Regions from separate parts of the Homo sapiens genome. Here region 1 is linked to region 2. Evidence: promoter capture Hi-C in 16 types of primary human blood cells and fetal thymus (Javierre and others, 2016). All regions are on one chromosome and are shown on one strand. Each heading gives the region's core, a stretch centred on a gene start or on the middle of the fragment in contact. The rest is flanking DNA. Distances are from core to core; before and after follow the strand shown. Region 1 overlaps ZNF280C (zinc finger protein 280C). Region 2 holds the start of OCRL (OCRL inositol polyphosphate-5-phosphatase).

The links. Contacts are between HindIII fragments. The CHiCAGO score rates a contact against its expected background, and 5 or more counts as called.
Region 1: a contact is called between a fragment that was not itself captured here and the fragment with the promoter of OCRL in region 2, in 6 of 17 cell types (M1 macrophages, M0 macrophages, monocytes and 3 more). The highest score is 6.6, in M1 macrophages.

What each region holds. Positions count from the first base shown.
Region 1 is chrX:130,198,351-130,203,214 of GRCh38, reverse strand. It overlaps ZNF280C (zinc finger protein 280C), which reads left to right. Exons shown (of 19, transcript NM_017666.5): 19 at 1-508. Among named protein-coding and RNA genes, the nearest start is that of RAB33A, 29 kb to the right of the region's middle. The HindIII fragment of the contact is 3,341 bases long and covers 1,695-4,864 here.
Region 2 is chrX:129,538,948-129,543,371 of GRCh38, reverse strand. OCRL (OCRL inositol polyphosphate-5-phosphatase) reads right to left here and starts at 3,113. Exons shown (of 24, transcript NM_000276.4): 1 at 2,894-3,113; 2 at 2,549-2,628. The coding sequence starts at 2,932. RefSeq lists silencers at 2,900-3,099, 3,210-3,269 and an enhancer at 2,986-3,280. The HindIII fragment of the contact is 8,325 bases long and covers 2,249-4,424 here.

The DNA of each region.
Region 1 (4,864 bases), core at 2,116-4,615, 660 kb before region 2:
TCTTTGTGTTTGTTTTGTTCTTATTACAAACTCCAAGACATTTCTTAGAATTGTCTACAGATTTCGTGTAGCTACTTATTGGTAGCTTCTTAATTTCATACTTGTCCAGACCATTAGACATTATTACATGCTCTGTCTTGGGCCTATCATTAACATTAGCTTAGGGATTCTGATTTCAAAGACATAAAGAATTGGCAAAACTCTTCTTACAGAACTTAAAACAAGTTTTAAAGTTACATTTCTATACATCTAATACATAATACCTTCTTAGCCATTAATGTAATTCCTCTGGATAAAGATAATATATTCAAAAAATATTGGGACCAAAAAATGCACTTGTTTCTTGCTCATATATATATAGATGTATATTTTTTTTAATTTCTTGTTTGTTTATTTTGGTTACATTGAATACAGATTTGCTGAACAGTTTTGATGTTATTTTTTTAATAAAATTTGTATTGTTAAAGTGCCTTGGAAATTTCTAATAAATAACTTCATATAAAAGCTATCATATAACTATAGGAGCATTGCTTTGCTCCTAGTTCCGTGGAGCCTGATTGCTTGACCTGCAGACTGAAAGCTTTATCTGCTGAGCACATCTTGTACTTTTTCCTCCAGCACAGTTAAAAGCAAACTATTTACACTTTACTAATTTCTTGAGCAGCTAGCAAAAGCCCCCTTTGTGATCTTAATAGTCATGAAGGTGGGCAGGCTCTGAAGTCATTTGACTCAATATGGGTGTTTTTTAACTCCAAAATTAGAACTGGACCAGGTACAATGTCTCATGCCAGTAATCCCCAATACTTTGAGAGGCTGAGGTGGGAGCCAGGAGTTTAAGACCAGCCTGGGCAACATAGCAACACTCTGTCCCTACCACAAAAAAAAAAAAAAAAAAAAGCTGGGTGTGGTGGCATATGCCTGTAGTCCTAGCTACTCAGGAGGCTGAGGCAGGAGGATCGCTTGAGCCCAGAAGTTCGAGGCTGCAGTGAACTATGATCATGCCACTGCATTCCAGCCTAAGCCACAAAGCAAGACCCTGCTTTAAAAAAAAAAAGAAAATTAAAACTGCTTTGATATACTTTGAAACACTGAAAGCCAGTGTCATTGGCCACTGCTATGTAGTATACTCCTTGCAATTCATAGTCAGGAGTTGAATCCATTAATTTTAATTTTCCAAACAGATTTCTGCTCTAAATGATTTTCCCAAATCTCCAAAAGGGGCTTATGTCATAGTCGTGGACTTGGTAATCCTTTTCTTTCCATACCTTTCTCTAGGATGTTTTGTCAAACACCATTTTTCTACCCATTTTTTTTTTACTTTTTTTATTATGGTAAAATGTATGAAATTTGCCATTTAAAATCATTTTCATTCAGCAGCATTAATGACACCCAACTTTAAGTTTTAAACTTTTTCCCAGAAATAACAACTTATTTGCATTTTTAGCATTGGTCTTCTTTTTATTTACAGATATTTTCTCTGTCTCTATCACAGTTCAAAAATACAGAAAACCACATTCTTGCTATAGCAGTATTTTAGGTAGAGGTACAGTTTTGTGTTCTTCCATAGGATTCTGTTTCTTATACTATGTATCAAGTTATTTTAAAGTTTAATGCTCTGGAAGTTATGTGTCCCATAGCATCACTTTTTTTAAACTTTGTTTAAATAAAACTATTTATGCAGTCAGTACTAAGCTTACTTGTTATAAGCAGTTGAGTTTTAATAGGTGTTAGTGAGTTTTAGCTTGACAATCTGATCCCTCTTCACCTTCAGACTGTTAGTTATTTCACCTGATTCAGAAATAGCCATGTCATGCATGTGTCCTTTTTTGTTTTCAACTGAATAAAAGGTATGGTTGGCTCAGTTTCAGTCCATCACTATTATTATTTTTTAAAAAAACACTAAATGACAAAGACTTAGATTCTTGCCCTTCTTTGTGTCACATTTTGGCAAAACACCTCTTTCAGTCTTTTTTCTTTTTTTTTTTTTTTTGAGACGGAGTCTCGCTCTGTCGCCTAGGCTGGAGTGCAATGGGGCGATCTCAGCTCACTGCAAGCTCTGCCTCCCGGGTTCACACCATTCTGCCTCAGCCTCCCGAGTAGCTGGGACTACAGGCGCCTGCCACCACGCCCAGCTAATTTTTTGTATTTTTAGTAGAGACTGGGTTTCACCAGGATGGTCTCGATCTCCTGACCTTGTGATCCGCCCGCGTCGGTCTCCCAAAGTGCTGGGATTACAGGCTTGAGCCACTGCGCCCAGCCTCTCAGTCTCATTTATTCGGTAAATATTACCTACTATGTGCCTGGCACTGTTGTAGTTGTTGGAAATACAAACTGAAATCTCTGCCTTCATGGGACTTAAATTTCTGTGTTGGGAGACAGACAATAGAAAGTAAATAACGTATAGTATGTTAATGGTGATGAAGTCTACGGAGGAAAATAAGGGAGATAGCAACATACAGGTTGGTGGTTGAGAGGTTGCCGTTTTAAATTTGATGGTCAAGTTGGGCCTCCTTGAGAAGATGGCATTTGAGTAAAGACCTGAAGGAGGTGAGGAAGTGAGCCACCTGGGTATCTGTCAGAGGAGCTTTCTAGAGAGGGGAAACAAGTGCAAAAGCCCTGAGGCAGAAATTGGAACCCTCATGTATTGCTGGTGGCAGTGTAAAATGGTCCAGCCACTATGAAAAACAGTTTGGCAGTTCCTCAAAAAGGTTAAGTGTAGAATTACCATATGACCCGGCAGTTTCACTCCAAAGAATCCAAAGCAGAGACTCAGATACTTGTATATGCATGTTCATAGCAGCACTATTCACAATAGCCAAAAGATAGAAATTGCCTAAATGTCACCCACAGATAAAGGGATAAATAAATTATGGTGTGTTGCCGGGCGCGGTGGTTCATCCCTGTAATTCCAGCACTTTGGGAGGCCGAGGCAGGTGGATCACCTGAGATCAGGAGTTTGAGACCAGCCTGTGCAACATGGCAAAACGCCGTCACTACTAAAAATACAAAAATTAGCTGGGTGTGGTGGTGGGTGCCTGAAGTCCCAGCTACTGGGGAGGCTGAGGCACAAGAATCACTTGAACCTGGGAGGCAGAGGTTGCAGTGAGCTGAGATCACACCACTGCACTCCAGCCTGGGTGACAAAGCAAGACTCTGTCTCAAAAGTTATGGTGTGTCCATACAACGGAATATTTTTCAGCCACAAAAAAGAACAAAGTGCTGATACTTGCTACAGTGTGTATGGACCTCTTAAACATTATGTTAAGTGAAAGAAAACAGTCATAAAAGGTCATATGTTGTGTGATTCCGTTTATATGAAATATCCACGCAGGAACAGAAAACCAAATACCACATGTTCTCAGAGCTAAAAATGAGAACTCATGAACACAAGGGAACAACAACAGACACTATTGAGGGTGTTCATGAACCACTTGTAAGGTGGAACATGTAACGAGGCTAGCAATAATCATTTTCATGTCAGGCGTGGCAGCTCATGCATGTAATTCCAGCACTTTGGGAGGCCGCGGCGGGTGGATCATGAGGCCAGGAGTTTGAGACCAGCCTGGCCAACATGGCGAAAACCTGTCTCTACCAAAAAATACAAAAATTAGCCTGGTGTGGTGGCACACGCTTGTAATCCCAGCTCCTTGGGAGGCTGAGGCAGGAGAATCACTTGAACCCGGGAGGCGGAGGTTGCAGTGAGCCAAGGTCGCACCACTGCACTCCAGCCTGGGTGACAGAGTGAGACTCCATCAAAAAAAAGAAAAAACACTTGGCACAAAGCTAAAGTAATCAGAACAGTGTGGTCCTGCCACAGGGTAGAAAAAGAGAAGTGGAATAGAATGAGAGTCCAGAAATAAACCCACACACTGCACTCAAGGGTGGCAGAGCAAGGCTCTCAAAAAATCATTTTCATATTTTTGGAAATTATATCAGGAAAAATAGTATGGTCATTGTGTTCATAAAATCTAAGGAATACATAACGGACAGTCACTTTACATGATTTCAAACTCGAGAAGTTTCAGACTTAATCGTATCTAGCTTCTCTGTAACTCATGCTTGGCTTATTAATCTACCTACTTTTCTTGGAACTATTACTATTTTCAGCCTATTATCCATTAACGAGTTTCTTACTCTGTAAAGTCTTACTTCCTGTTTAAACAGCTTCAAGAGAGTGTCTTAATACTAGGATTACAAGGTCCAAGATTCAATACCTGACTCTGCAGTAAACCCTCTCTGCACCCTTACAGGTGCAGTGCAGTGGAGTGGTTAGAGCCCAGGCTCTGCAGCAGACTGCCTAGGTTGGAATTCCTCCCCTACCAGTGATTAGATTTGTGTGTGTGACTTTAGGCTCTGTGTCTCATTTTCCTTATTTGTAAATTGCATGTAACAGCATCTACTCAGAATTGAGGGAATTAATTGAGTTAATACAGTATATGTATATCCCACTTAGAACAGTGATTGGCACACAGGAATGCAATCCAACATTGTTACGATTATTGCTACATTGTGACTACCTTTCCTGATTTTATTTGTCTTAATTTTATTCAGATAGAAATAGTTCGAATCTTCACCCAGTTTTTCATTCCAGCCTCCTCACACCACCTTCACAATCAATGACTATTAACTCTCTTTTCCTAACCCAGTGGCTTTCTTGAGGGTCACTGTTGAAGCACATAGTACTAAAGATAAGCATACCATTATATTTCTTGGTTTCTCAAGCTCACCAGACTAATATTTTTAAGGAATGTCTATCAATGCTCCTGGGTTCACTTTAGTCGTAATTGTCATTTATAAATATTAGGTTAGTGCCAAAGTAATCACGGTTTTTCCCATTACTTTCAATGGCAAAAACCGCAATTAC
Region 2 (4,424 bases), core at 1,864-4,363:
CATTAGCATTAAAGCTTCATCTGGACAGTACTGTTAAAAACTATTACAAAACAAATAAACTGAGAATTTAAGTGAATTTCACCAACATTTATTGAGTATTTACTACGTGTTACCCACTAAATTACAATAAAAGAGTAGGGCTAAGAATAAGCATAAAAATTCTGAGTGTAATTATTCATTTCAGAATATAAAGATTAGAAATAATTGGTATACAGCAAAACAATGGAATTCAGAATTTGGTAGTTGTCAAACAGAAAAGAGTGACAAATCCTGAATGCCAACTCTGCCTTATCCCTAGGAAACACTTTGATTTGTTCAAGGAAGGTTAAAGGTCAAACAGGTTTTGTCATAATCTATTATCCTTGAAAAATATGAATCTTAAGTGTTTGATTCCCTGTTTCCAAAAAAACCCTGATTTTTAATTGTAATTTTGGTCAAGCAAATTTCCTATGGTTGACAGTAGGAACCACAGACCTAAAGATTTAAGTCAGGCTTCAAGTTCTAGGATAAAAAAGCCAAAAGTAAAAAGTTCTGGACACTCGAGTCAGAAAAGACACCAGAGAGACAAGAATATGAGGATTACAGATGGTATTATGGTATTAGGTGTCTCCAGCAAATGCTTTCAAGAGAAACTTCTCAGTGTAATTCTGAGACATGTTACATAGGATCAGATCTCAGGTATTCTACTCCCTAATTGCAAACAAGTGACTTAACCTGTCTGTGCTTCAATTTCTGTATCTATAAAAGGGGGATGATGATATTACTATCTTATAGTAACCCTCACATGTGGATTAAATGAACTAACTAATGAAAAGGGCTTAGAACAGTACCTGGCACATAAGCAGCCATTGAATGTTAGTTATATAGCAACAACTATATTAGTTGTTAGTTATATGTTAGTTTATATATAAACTATAGTTTATATGTATTTAAAACTATAGTTTATATATATTTAAAACTATTTACATAGTTTATATATAAACTGCTAATATAGCAACAACTATATTAGTTGTTAGTTATATAGTTGTTATATAGTGTTACCTATATATTAATGTTAGTTATATAGCAGCCCCATACCCCCACATATACCCCCAACTATACCCCCATAACTTACACAGAATTGGAACACACGACTTCCTTATTAGCTCAACAGAGTTCCAAATCTACTAATCCGAGGGACTAGATTCTGGGCTGTGGTCATCTCAACAATGTAGCTACTCTATTCAATCTTCATGATTTTGTTTTTACATTAGAGGAAACCAAGGCACACAAGTTTTACTGGTTTGCCCAAGGGTCACCTCTCTGTAACCCACTCTAGCCTTTGGAAATGTTAGTGGTGTTCCACTTTTCTGCTGAATTTTGTTTTATTAAATTCTGAATTTAGTTTAGTTTCATTAAACTAGTCTTCCAGGGTTTGATGAAATCCGGGTTTGATGAACTTCCCAGTAGAGCTGACTAAGCAGGACCTATGAAAGAGCTACTTCACAGAATTAGCTGACATCCAGTTAGAGTGGCACCAATAGTCTCAGAGAAGAGCAGGTTGGGCCAGTGGGAATTTCTTCCGTGTAAATCTGACAGCATAGATACAGAGGATCTAAAAGTGGGGACTGAGAAAATTGGTTTTAGGCAGAAGCCAATGTTGGGAGATGGCAAGATTTAAGTGAACAATTTTTAAACTGGGAAGGAATATGATGTCAAGAAGCCAATGAATATCCAAGTGAGGTGTCTTGGGCACACAGGGATAGGGGCCTATGATACGTAATGGTCACCATGGATATTTTTGAGATAAGATATTAGTGACAATAGAGTGAGGTTAGCAGCTATGGTGATAGCTTATCAAAATAATCTTTTGATCAATCAGTCAACAGTATTTACGGAGCTCCTATGGCAGAGAGGAAGGTGACACACTGATAAAATACTGTCATTTCTATCTCTACACATTTCATTACCTTTTCTTTCTAACAGTAAAGTCAGTAAGTGAGGCAGTTTCTGGCCTACACTAAACCATTACTGAATTAATGAATATGCCTTCAACCCAGTGGGATAAGGGGACGGGGAGACTGGAGAAACCAGCTGAATAGGGTTAAGACAAGTCTGTAACGTTAACAATGAAGCATTTCCATAGCACTTTTACTTTTTGGAAGCCACTCTCGCATTTATTTTTCCCCCAGTTATAATTCCAAAGGCTGTAAGGTAAGGCAGTTAATGGTTTTATTAAACTGAAGAGTTAACTTTGGCCCAGAAAGCTTTATTGACTTGCCCAACGTTACACAACACATGTCAGTTGCAGGGGCAGGAACTAAGAACCCAGGCTTCCTGCTTCCCCGCCCATTCAGTCCTTCCACTGAGCCACACTGCCAAGCACAATCCAGAGGCTTGGAAGTTGGGGACAAAGCCCCGAGGTTAGAGAGCACTGGCACTTCACACCTGGACCTGAACCTGTTGCCCGCGTGGCTTCAGTAGGAGGACAGTGGGTGACCCGTCGCGGTTTGGGGTTGGGAGGTAATGGCAGGCTCCCCTCCTCTGTGGGAATCAGGTGGTTACTTACTCATATTGCCCGTTCCTCTGGGCTAGGGTCAGGGCGCAGGGCTCCCGGAGAGGACCCTTCATCTCCATACCCTCGACAGTATGCGGGCGCTAGTCAAGGGTCTCCTTCGGAAGCGCGGTGGGGAGGAGTGGTGCACTGCGGGGCGAAGGGGGTCTTCCACCCCCCCCCCACCGCCGCCCTCCCCCGCCCCGCCCCGCCCTGCTTCGTCTCCCGCGCCGGCCCCCTCCCCCTCTCTGCTCGGCCTCTGGGCCACCCGGTTGCCCCGCCCCACCGTGTTCCGCAGGGCCCCCGACCCCCACCCCCGGCCCTGCGCGGCCTCCCCTCTCCCTTCTCTCCGGCGGATACGGCAAGCGGCTGGGCTCCGACCGGGAGCGGCGGCTCCATCCAGGCGGCCTCCGGGCTCAGCAGGACAGCGGACTGCGGGCCGATCCGACGACACTGGCTCCCGCGTCCCCACACCCACCCACCTCGGCTGCGTGTCGTTTGAGGAACAGCTCCGCGCCGGGCGCCGGGCGCCGGGAGCCGGGAGCGGGGAGCTGGGAGCTGAGAATCTGACCCAAGAGAGAGCGGCGCCTCGCGCCCCCGCCAGTTTTCCAGGCCGCCGCAGATTCCGTCCCCTGCGGTCAAACTGCGGAACTGCAGCGAGAGACCTGACGGACTGGGGGCGTCTCTACCAGGTCCAGCAAGGAATGGGTTTTAAATGCCACCTGTGACATCAAAATTGTTCTGAGGACTTTGAAGGCCACAGAAACAAAACACAGTCATACCTATGGGAGATCTCAAACCTGTTGTGTCAATACGACCCACATCATTCAGTAAAAAAATACATATATATATATATATATATTTCTTAAGGTTATAATGTCCCGTGTTGGTTATCCTACCATTTCCTTTCCTCTTCTTTCTTCCACGCCCTAAATCGGAGAATTCCCCAAAGCCCAGACCTTTGCTCCTCCTCTGCGTCCCCTCCAGTTCACCTCTAACTAGACAATGTCCAAATATATATCCCTGGCCCAGACCTCTTACCTAATAGAGTCCATTGTTAACACATCACTGCGTCACAAAACTAACTCATTATCATTTCACTGGAAAGCCATATATCGTCTTCCCCCTCCTCATCTCTATATCCAATCAGTCAACACACCCTGTTAATATTTTACGTGGAATTACTTTTAGATTCCTTATTTTCTCTCCATTCACACTGCCATAACTTTATTGTAAGCCCTTGTGATAGCCTATCTGGGTTATTGCACTTTTCTTTAAATAAATCCTGTTGGGTTTACTCTTTCCTTTGACATGTTTACTCTGTTGACAGCCATAAAAATATTTTTCCCAAAGTAATTTTTCGATCGTGTTATTCATTTGCTCCAGAATCTATAATACACTAGATATCAAGAGTGACTGTAAATCTGTAGTAATTAAAAGTATGCTGTGGAGATAGACAATCAATGAAACACAATATAAACCCCTCAAACAGACCACACATATACGGAAGGTTGATATGCAGCGTGTGGGACATTTCAAATCAGTGGGGAAAGAATGGATTATCCACTAAGTGGTACTAGGACTACTGCTTATCCATATGGAAAATTATAAAAATTAGACCCCTACCTCAAACCATGGAAGAAAAATCAGTTCCAGGTGGATTAAAGATCTAAATGTGAAAAGCAAAACTTTATAACTTTCAGAAAAAAAAATTGAGTATGAGCTTGGAATATGGAATGAGAATAAGACATTTAGCTACATGAAATTTCAAAATGTATGTACTTTAAGACAATATAAACAAGTTAAAAGACAAACTGGCCTGCACAGTGGCTCATGCCTGTAATCCCAGCACTTTGGGAGGCCGAGGTGGTAGGATCACTTGAGCCCAGGA